Regions from separate parts of the Homo sapiens genome. Here region 2 is linked to region 1. The links are contacts of gene promoters, found by promoter capture Hi-C in human tissues and cell types (Jung and others, 2019). All regions are on one chromosome and are shown on one strand. Each heading gives the region's core, a stretch centred on a gene start or on the middle of the fragment in contact. The rest is flanking DNA. Distances are from core to core; before and after follow the strand shown. Region 1 holds the start of ZNF502 (zinc finger protein 502). Region 2 overlaps ZNF35 (zinc finger protein 35).

The links. The method cuts DNA at HindIII sites, captures the fragments that hold promoters and counts their contacts. A contact is called where the count stands out against the background at its distance.
Region 2: a contact is called between a fragment that was not itself captured here and the fragment with the promoter of ZNF502 in region 1, in 1 of the 25 tissues and cell types used here (pancreas).

The regions. Positions count from the first base shown.
Region 1 is chr3:44,711,341-44,716,407 of GRCh38, forward strand. ZNF502 (zinc finger protein 502) reads left to right here and starts at 1,320. Exons shown (of 3, transcript NM_001134442.3): 1 at 1,320-1,400. LOC105377056 (a long non-coding RNA gene) reads right to left here. Exons shown (of 3, transcript XR_940788.4): 3 at 4,177-4,497. The HindIII fragment of the contact is 6,909 bases long and covers 1-4,236 here.
Region 2 is chr3:44,659,204-44,664,646 of GRCh38, forward strand. ZNF35 (zinc finger protein 35) reads left to right here. Exons shown (of 4, transcript NM_003420.4): 4 at 1-1,588. The coding sequence ends at 744. ZKSCAN7-AS1 (ZKSCAN7 ZNF cluster antisense RNA 1) reads right to left here. Exons shown (of 3, transcript NR_157564.1): 2 at 2,059-2,183. Among named protein-coding and RNA genes, the nearest start is that of ZNF35, 13 kb to the left of the region's middle. The HindIII fragment of the contact is 3,806 bases long and covers 477-4,282 here.

The sequences.
Region 1 (5,067 bases), core at 70-2,569:
AACAAGCAGTATACATCTATGTGGAGTAACTATTTCCTGTAACTTGTTGGAAGTTGATGGTGACCTAGTCATTCATCAAATACTGATTGAATGCCTAGTATGTCAGCCATGCTCTAGGTGCTAGGGATATAGTATGAATGAAACAGAGAAGGCCCCTGCCTTCATACAGCTTACATTCTACCAAGGGAGATAACAATTGGATAGAGTGAGCCAAAGAAACGGGAATATGCCAGCTACGTGGTACATCCTTTCAGATGTGCAGAGAGCTTGCTTTCTGGATTTAATCTATGGTATCCTCATTTTTCAGTTTATCAAAAATGCCAATAATCTAAATTTCACCTGTTTCTGATTAACGAATTCAACAAGTATTTATTGAATGCCTTCTCTACCAATCATTGTGCTAAACATTGAGATATAATGATAAATAATAGCTCCATATAGCTGATTAGAGTTGTATAAAAATGAACTGATTGGGTCTTTCACAGTTGTCCTTGGGTGGGATGCTACTTGTGTGTATCTTCCTAACAATACCTACGAAAGAAATACAAGTGTATGCATTTAGGGGGGCACTGAATAGAAGGCTAGCTAGAGCTAGAATAACTAATAGTGATATGTGAGTGTAAAGACCCATAAGGGCAACAGTCTAGGTGGTCAAGTGAGAATTGGCATTGGGATTTGAAGAACCAGGATAAATTGGATAGCTGAGGTTAGGGAGAGCAGGTAGAAGGAAGGGAGAGTATTCCAAAGGGAAAATCCTGGGAAAAAGATCTAGAGTCAGGAAGAGGCAAGGGATTTCAGGGGGCCAATGGGAATTCAGTAACTTTAGAGCAGAATGTATATGATAGCCAAATAAGAGATGTTGATATTGAGGTCAGTTTGTGTGGGCCTAGATTGGGAGTTTGTCCTTTATTCTAACATAACAGGGGATCACTCAAGGTTCTTAATAGAGACTATTTTAAGCAGGTAGAATATACTAGTTTCTTGTTGAGATGGCCCATTCCGGCTCCTACCCAGCATCCTTTCCATCCCTAACGTCTCCCTCTACAGTTTTCCTGAGGGTTGAGGTAGCCACTGTGTTTCAGGCCAAGATAGTTGTTAATGGGATATCAGGAACGCGACTGGGCTTGACGGGAAGCAAGGCTGGAGTTACAGGCTGGGCTTGGCGGGAAACAAAGCTGGAGTTACAGGCTGGGTTTGGAGGGAATGCCTTCTTCTAGGGTCCCATAGAGATGTTCCTCCCGCTTCCTAGAGAATCAGAGAATGGATGCGCGAGCTCGCTGCTGACGCACTACCGGCCGCGCCACCATTCTTCCGGTTTCAGAAGTTAAGGCTGGTGTCCTGGCCCCAGTCCACCTCTGGGAGCGCCTGCGCCGCTCCGCGGAGAGTCCGTGGATCTCACAGTGAGCGAGTTGGGACCCAGGGAGGGGAAAAGAGAGGACCCCGGCGAGCCATTGCTGGGGCGGCGGGCTGGAGGGTTATCTGGGAAGTCAGCCCCGGCCTCGGTCCTCTCCACGTTGCTGCCTACGCGTGCTGCCCGGACGTAGGGCACTCCTAGCGGCTCGGCCCGCCCAGCCTGCAGCCTCAGCACTGCAGACTCCAAGGCCCAGCACAGTGCCCGGCACAGAGGAGATGCCTAGGAAAATGGCGGAGTGAATGAATGAATGAGTGAATGAGTGATGGATAGATGATCAAGACAGACCTAGGACCCATGTCAGGAAACGAGGTCCTGGGGATCAGATACCAGTTTCTTCCCCCGGCTGATCCTGTAGCTCCGAAACTTGTTTAGAGCCTGTTTTTATAGGAGACGGCAAATAGCGTAAAGTGCACTCGTTGGGAGTCTTGAGACCTGAGTTACAATTCTGGAGGGTACAGAAATCTCTAAAGTACTGTCTAGAAGTCTGTTCCTTGCTTCTTCACAAAGCTCAGTTGACAGCTTGTATGTGATAGCATGTATGCAAACCTTAATGCCTCCCAATGAAGGATTACTATCCATTATATGCCAAACATTACCCCGAATTTAGTGGCTAGGCTACAAAAGAGTGACATCGGAGACTGCCACATGTAAAGATGCTTCCAGTCTTGTTTAGGACGATAAGGGCATAAGCAGATTTTGGTGGTAATATTTTAAACTACATTTATTTAGCACTTACTGTATACCAGGCACTATTTGAAGCATTTGTGCTAATTGATTTAATCTTCACAACAGCGTATTGCGTGTACAGTTTTGTTTTTTGGTTTTTGGTTTGTTTTTTTTTTTGAGACGGGATTTCACTCTTGTTGCCCAGGCTGGAGTGCAACGGGGTGATCTGGGCTCACCACAACCTCTGCCTCCCGGGTTCAAGCGATTCTCCTGCCTCAGCCTCCCGAGTAGCTGGGATTACAGGCATGCGCCACCACACCTGGCTAATTTTGTATTTTTAGTAGAAACGGGGTTTCACAGTGTTGGTCAGGCTGGTCGCGAACTCCCAACCTCAAGTGATCCACCCGCCTTGGCCTCCCAAAGTTCTGGGATTATAGGCGTGAAACACCGCGCCAGGCCTATGTGTAGTTTTTAAGTGAGGGAACTGAGGTACAGAGAGAACAGAAAACTTGTCCCAGATCACATTGCTAAGTGACCCAAGGCTGCATAAGAGATAAAGTGTACTGCCACAGCTTGGGTGAGTGCACTGTTTGGTGCCAAAATGCAGACCAAGAAGGGCTTCAGAGAGGAGTACATTTCAATGTGGTCTCGTTGGAGGGATTGTTAAAAATTCTTGAAAAACTTCATCTAGCTTGCTTAGATTCTTTTAGCTAATTATTGAGGGGTAAGGAGGTGGCATCTGGGGAAAAGCTTACAAGGTAGAGGGAGGAAGCCAGCTCTCTAATAGGTTAGCAGGATAGGGCTATTAAGAGCCTGTTTCCTTTTTACCTTTCACCATAATACTCAGCTTTCCCCAGATCTGCAGAGGGATCTTTTTAGCATCTTAAAATCACTAACAGCCAGATTATTCCACAATAGGCATTTGTAGAAGCACCTGTACATTACTTTCTGGGCAACTTATAGACCTAGGAGTCAGCAAATATGGACCAAATTTGGTCTGCCACTTTTTTTGGTAAAACTGTTTTATTAAAACACAGGCAAGCTCATTCAGTACATATTGTCTGTTTCTGTTTTCAGACTACAAAGGCAAAGTTGAATAGTTGAGACAGAGACTATATTTTCCATTTAACCCATTAAACCTAAAAAAAATTGCTTTCTGGCCTGTTACAGAAAATGTTTGCTGACCCTTGACATTGACAAACTGCTGACAGCTCAGATGATCCATGATTGGAAGGATGTGGTCATCACCAAGATGTCTTTCTTTCTCCGTAGGTTTTAGTATCAACCATAATAGCATCTAACCCCTGTTGAGTGCCTGCCATCGAGTAGATATCTTTTTGAATGCTTTATGTGAATTAACTCATCAAGGATTCACAGATTATCAGAGCTGGAATGACCCGTAAATATTGTCTAATTTGTCACCCTTTTCAGATAAATAGCCTGTCATGTAGGCCCACTCACATGGGCTATTGGCAGAGCAAACTTTCCTGAGTCCCAATCCAGTCTACTATCATCTTGTGAATGGGAGGCCAATACCATAGCCATTGGATCTGGCATTTTGTTTTTGTTTTTGTTTCTGGGTTTTTAAAAAGTAACTTTTTCTACCTATAAAAGTAATATATGTTTATTGAAGGAGAAGTAAAAATATAGAAGAGTATAAAGGACAAACTAAAGTGACCCATTAACTGACCTAGAGATAAATGTGTTAATATTTTGGTGGGTTTTCTTTATGTCTTTTTTAAATGTGTGTGTTTTATCTGTTTATTAACAATAGTTTCTGTTTATTGAGTGCTTAATGCCAGTATATGTGTGCATATTTCTTGTTTTTTAGTGTTTTGTATCTTCCTGTTTTAACATATTATATTTTCTCATGAATATTCTTTGAAATTATGATTTTTGATACCTTCATAAGCTATCTTTGCTAGTCTATCAATGTTTATTTGCCTGTTTATTTAACAATTGTAGTAATAGTGTGATCTTTGTACATAAATCTCTGGCCATCTCTGATTATGCTTTTTCACTTTTTCTTTGATTACAGAAGTTAGTTATTCCTATGGGAAAATTTTCAAACATTACAAAAAGATAGGCCTTAAGGCAAAAGTTTACCATAATTTTATTCTTCAGATATGATCACAATAAATAATTTGTTATATATTCTTATAGATTTGTTTTTTTTTTAAAGTGGAGCAAAATATAGATAATAGAGGACATTTGAGGAAATTATTCACAATTCATTATTTTACCACAGTGATGATTATTTTTCCTTCTTGATCTTATTCAGATGTATTTTTAATTTTTAATTTTTGAGAGGGATCTCACTCTGTCACCCAGGTTGGAATGCAATGGTGCTATCACAGCTCACTGCGACCTCTACCTCCCATGTTCAAGTGATCCTTCCACCTCAGCCTCCTGAGTAGCTGAAACCACAAGCACGACACATGTATATTTTAACAAACATATATTTTACATTATATTACTACTTGAAATTTTACTATACTGGATTTTTTCAACATATGGCATAAATATTTTTCCCAATAAACACATATTTTCATTTTTAATGATCTTAATGCCTAAATAATTTTCACCAACTAGAAGTACCATAATTTGCTAATCCTCAGTGTCCACCAGTAGAAAAACTTTTATTTCCATGTACATTTCAGGGGATATTTTTACAAGTAACAGAAGAATTCTGTTTCTCTTCTCTCTGGAAATTTACTTCTTTCTGAGAAAATTCTATTTGTAGAATTACTAGGTCAAAGAATATAGTCTTTTTTTTTTTTTTTTGAGACGGAGTTTCGCTCTTGTCGCCCAAGCTGGAGTGCAGTGGCGTGATCTCGGCTCACTGTAGCCTCTGCCCCCTGGGTTCAAGCAATTCTCCTGCCTCAGCCTCCTGAGTAGCTGAGATTACAGGTGCCTGCCACTGCGCCCGGCTAATTTTTTGTATTTTTTAGTAGAGACGTGGTTTCACCATGTTGGGCAGGCTGGTC
Region 2 (5,443 bases), core at 1,130-3,629, 51 kb before region 1:
TCAAAATGTGGGAAAGCCTTCACTCAGAGTTCAAATCTGACTGTACATCAAAAAATCCACTCCTTAGAAAAAACTTTTAAGTGCAATGAATGTGAGAAAGCCTTTAGTTACAGCTCACAACTTGCTCGGCACCAGAAAGTCCACATTACGGAAAAATGCTATGAATGTAATGAATGTGGGAAAACATTTACTAGGAGCTCAAACCTCATTGTCCACCAGAGGATCCACACTGGGGAGAAGCCCTTTGCCTGTAACGACTGTGGCAAAGCCTTTACCCAGAGTGCAAATCTTATTGTACATCAGCGAAGCCATACTGGTGAGAAGCCATATGAGTGTAAAGAGTGTGGGAAAGCCTTTAGTTGTTTTTCACACCTTATTGTGCACCAGAGAATTCACACTGCAGAGAAACCTTACGACTGCAGCGAATGTGGGAAAGCCTTCAGTCAGCTCTCTTGCCTTATTGTCCACCAGAGAATTCACAGTGGAGATCTTCCTTACGTGTGTAATGAATGTGGGAAGGCCTTCACATGTAGCTCATACCTACTTATTCATCAGAGAATTCATAATGGAGAAAAACCTTACACATGTAATGAGTGTGGGAAGGCCTTCAGACAGAGGTCGAGCCTCACCGTGCACCAGAGAACCCACACTGGGGAGAAGCCCTATGAATGTGAGAAGTGTGGTGCAGCTTTCATTTCCAACTCACACCTCATGCGACACCATAGAACCCATCTTGTTGAATAACAAGTAAGGAAGAGGAAGACCTCCAGCATTGGTCATAACCTTCTGCCTCCCTAATGAGACACCTCTTTGCTGTTTTCTTCCTCCTCTATAAAAGTGAGGGCTGTGTCCTTAAAAGTTATAGTTTTCAGGAATGCAGCAGAAGACACAAGAAAAGCATTTCAGAGGCTAATTTAAAACAAAAAGTAAGCACCTAAAGGCAAGGACTTTGTTTTAACTGTACCTTAAGCGGTCATGTTCTCTGAAGTGGAATGTGGCTTTCCTAGGAATGGGTCGTACAAAGCTAAGTGGTAATGATGCTATTTGGGGAAAGGTCTTTTTTGCTTAATTTTGTTTTTTAAAACTCTGATGATTGCTTGAGCAACAGGCAGGTTATCTGCCTGGTTGAATTCTGGTTGAACCGTGTATTCTAATATTTCTGGTTAAGTGGTGACTGGGTAAGGAAACCACTTGGGGTAGCAGTTCAACAATTCACTTACGAATGTTTATAAGCTTTCCATTTCCTAGGTAATTTTTTAAAAGCCAGTCAAAACAAAAACTTTACTGAAAATGGACAGAAATAGGAAATGGACTTTTTCCTTACTGTCTATACCTCCTGAACCTTGGTATTGTAAAGATCTGGGGACCTCTGGGTCTGTTCTGACCATTCCCTAGTCTCCATGGCCAAGCACTCAAGGATTGATGGACACCACACACCAGCTATATTCATTTGCCAAGATCAACAGCTCCTTCTCCAAACAACTCAAGCCCCCAATTCCCATCGCATTCCATTTGGGTGAGATGCAACTAACAGCCCCTTCCTGGATGAAGGAGTCAAAGAATAAAGCTTGCCTAGAGGCATGCCCCAGTTGTCTCTGCTGTCATTCTGCTCAAGTCCAGCCAGGGGTCTCAGTTTGGGTTTCATTCTCACATTCTGGATGGTGTTTAGAAGAAATAGTGGAGCTCTTCTCATTCTGAGAAGACCAAAGAGGGAAAGTGATGGGAGAGGGGAGGTGGAAATAAGATTCCTAAGGTCTTAATTTGATTTTTTGAGAAATTCAGAGGTATTGGAATATGAAAAACTTTTAGAAGGATGAAGAAACTGGCCAAGGTAAGATATCTTTGTTACCATTCAGCCTTTACTCCTGGAAAAATGATTTATAAAACTATGCAATAGGTAGAGTTATGTAATAATATTGCCTTGTATTTATATAGAACTTTTATTCTTTGTTGTGTACCCTTATGTATTGATCATGATACCTGGCACGTATCTCACGCTTTCACATAGATCACCTACCTCAGTCCTTACAACACTGAAACAGGTGGTTGCCCATTTACCTGAGAATGGTCATTTAGTGCAAGGCCAAGTAACAAGTGACAGCTTATATCCAAGTCCAGGTCCTGAATCTAGATTCTCTGTTCTGCCATGCCACTTGCCAAACACCTGTAATCCCCATGCAGACCTGTAGGGGAGACAAAGAAAGGGGTGTGTAGTCCCATTTTTCAGGTGAGGAAGCTGATGTGACAGATGTTTGGAGTGTGCCTTAGGCACTGTGACCAGAAATCAGCAAACCTAAGACTAGAATTTGGGTCTCCTGATTTCTGGCTCTGTCCCTCCATGCTGTTCCAATGCCTCAGGGCATGCAAGAGCATTTATCATAAATGCTGAGCCTGATGCAGCTCTCATGCAGAAGTCCCATGCATTTATTATCACATTTCTGCAAGACTAAATATTAATCACATAGTGTTTTCTAGTTTACAGAGCACTTCTTTTGTGTGTTAGTTTTGTTTTGTTTTTGAGATGGAGTCTTAGGCTGGAGTGCAGTGGCACAATCTTGGCTCACTGCAACCTCTGCCTCCCAGGTTCAAGTAATTCTCTTACCTCAGTCTCCCGAGTAGCTGGGACTACAGGTGCATGCCACCACGCCTGGCCAATTTTTTTTTTTTTTTTTTTTTGAGACAGAGCCTTGCTGTGTTGCCCAGGCTGGAGTGCAGTGGCACGATCTTGGCTCACTGCAACCTCCGCCTCCCGGGTTCAAGTGATTCTCCTGCCTCGACCTCCTGAGTAGCTGAAATTACAGGTGCACGCCACCACCCCCAGCTGATTTTTGTATTTTTAGTAGCAGTGGGGTTGGTCAGGCTGCTCTTGAACTCCTGACCTCGTGATCCACCTGCCTTGGCCTCCCAAAGTGCTGGGATTACAGGAGTAAGCCACTGCGCCCAGCCTTTTTTGTATTTTTAGTAGAGACGAGGTTGCACTATGTTGGCCAGGCTGGTCTCAAACTCCTGACCTCAGGTGATCCACCTGCCTCGGCTTCCCAGAGTGTCAGGAATACAGGCACGAGCCACCATGCCTGGCCTACAGTGCACTTTCACATACAGAAGGCATACACAAGAAAGCTTATTAATTTCCTTTTTCCTCCCTCCTCTAGTTTTTTTTCCAAAACATATGCAACTTACTTTCCCAGTTTCACTCTAAATCATAGAGACACAAATACAAGAAATCAAAAGGATTCAAAAGTAGGATCAAATACTCATGCCCTCACCAATCCTAACAGTGACTGTTCCAGTCTCCCTGATGGAATGGAGAGACCCAAATAAACCACCCCCTGTCTCTGCTGAGAGTAGGAACAAGTTAGTTTTTTCCCCCTGCCTTATCAGGAAGCTGAGAATATCAGGAGAGCAGGTCTGAAGATTTGAGAAAACTCTGTGACCTTGACCCACCAAGAGACAGAAACTACTTTGCTTAAAGAATACCTGCTGGGATTTATGACCATTAAGACAGTTAAACCATTCTACCATCACATATGTTTATCCTCATAATATTCAGTTATGGATGATTGTGATTTTCACTCATAGGTAGTTCAGAAAAGCTACGCAGGGGATTATGATGCAAAACTAGGTTTGAGATTCACTGACCCAACCTTGCAGTAAAGCAGTGGTTTTAAACCTTGGCTTCATGTTAGAATCACATTGGGCACTTTTTTAAAATTTCCATTTCTAGACCTCTGTATTTTTTAAAACTCTGGAGGGGATTACAATGACAAGCAAAGGTTATGAGCCACTGTAGCAAAAAGTAAAGGCTGCAGGCCAAGAATGTGTGTGATCAAAGGTGGAGGGGGTGGGGGTGCTCCAGTATAAGGATCTGTACGTGCAAAGCATTCTATGTATTTTTAGCAGAACAGGAGACTTACTTTACACTAGCTGAACTAGGTGTCCATCAGTGCCTCTGCCAACCATTGGATGTTAGAGGATTCTGCCACCTAGCTTATTTTATTTGTATTTAAGTGAATATACCAAACATTTATATGAGCAAACCAAGTTTTACATAACATGCTTTTGGTATGTATTATGACTTTTTACATTTCTACTTGGATTTCCTCTTCAGATCTCAGTTTCCACAAATCTGCATCCAGGTTCAGGGCCTCTGATTCTGCACAAATCATATGAGCCAAGTGGATTGATTACTAGACAGATCAGATCCTTCCCCAGCTAATAACTCTGCCTTCTGATTCCAGTCCTCAAAATAAATTGCAGCCTGCCATTTTCTTTATGTTTTATAAGGGAGGAGTGACCACCTTTTGTCAGTTTGCTTAGTTTCCTATTCTTTGGGCTCATCTCCCATCTTTTTTGGGTAGTCTTGCTAGGAGTGGTTGGGAACTCTGAAGCCCCATTTTCCCAAGTTGCTGAGAGCTATCAGACTTTTAGCTGTCAGGCTAAGAGCTCTGTTGCAGGCCTAGTGATTGGCATTAAGAGTAGGGCCAGGAAATCTGTCCTCATCCTCAAATGAGACCAACAGATATGTATTAAGTGGAGCACAGTGATGCAAAACTGATGGCGAAATCACGTACAGTACTCTGGGAGCACAGGAGAAAGACTTCAATCCCTAACACGAAGTTACACACTCAAACACAGCCATAAATTCCACCAGGCTTAGGAAGAGGTGTCTTTGGACAAAGCTAATTGTTCACCTGCTCTGTATCCCCTCCCTGTCTCAGGTAGTTGTCCCTCTCCCACGTCTGTCACCTCTCCACTTGCTCATCCATTGTAGGCACTGCAACCTTTCTGGGGTTGCAGCCCCTTTGGGAATCCTGGGAAGATTATGGATCCTCTTCCCCTAAGAAGTGTACGTTGCAGATTAAATCTTGTGCTTACTTGGAGGTTATGCAGGCTTCCTGAAGACAATACATACATTTAGAGCCTAAAGTTGAATCTGGGGTGTATTACATAATCACCAGTGACTTTTTTTTTTTTAAATGAGGTTAGGTTACAGAATCACTAAGAATGTTGCCCAGACATTCTTTAAACCTTTAAAATTTGTTTTTCTCTTAGATTCCTTCCCTTATCAAATGACATTATCCCCACCACCTGGGGCACGCAGATTGAATGTCCAGAAGCTATTTCTGCCTTCCTAAGCATCATTCATTACAAAAACATTTTGTGTTCCCTTGTGGTGAACGTCATGCTAGATTCTGGACTGCCAAAGCAAACCTGGTCCACTATCCCTGTTGTCATGTCTGTTATGGGAAAAATATCAGGATCCCTAACATGATTTACTGAGCTCTTCATAATCTCTTTCCAGCCTCATCTCTTCACTCTCAGGCACCTTTTACTGCAGCCTAGAGGCACGTGCTTGCTCTTCTCTGTGCCTTTGCTCACACTTTTCTCAGTGCCTATAATACCTCATCACTACTTCCCACTCAGTCCCCTTCTACTTTTGCAA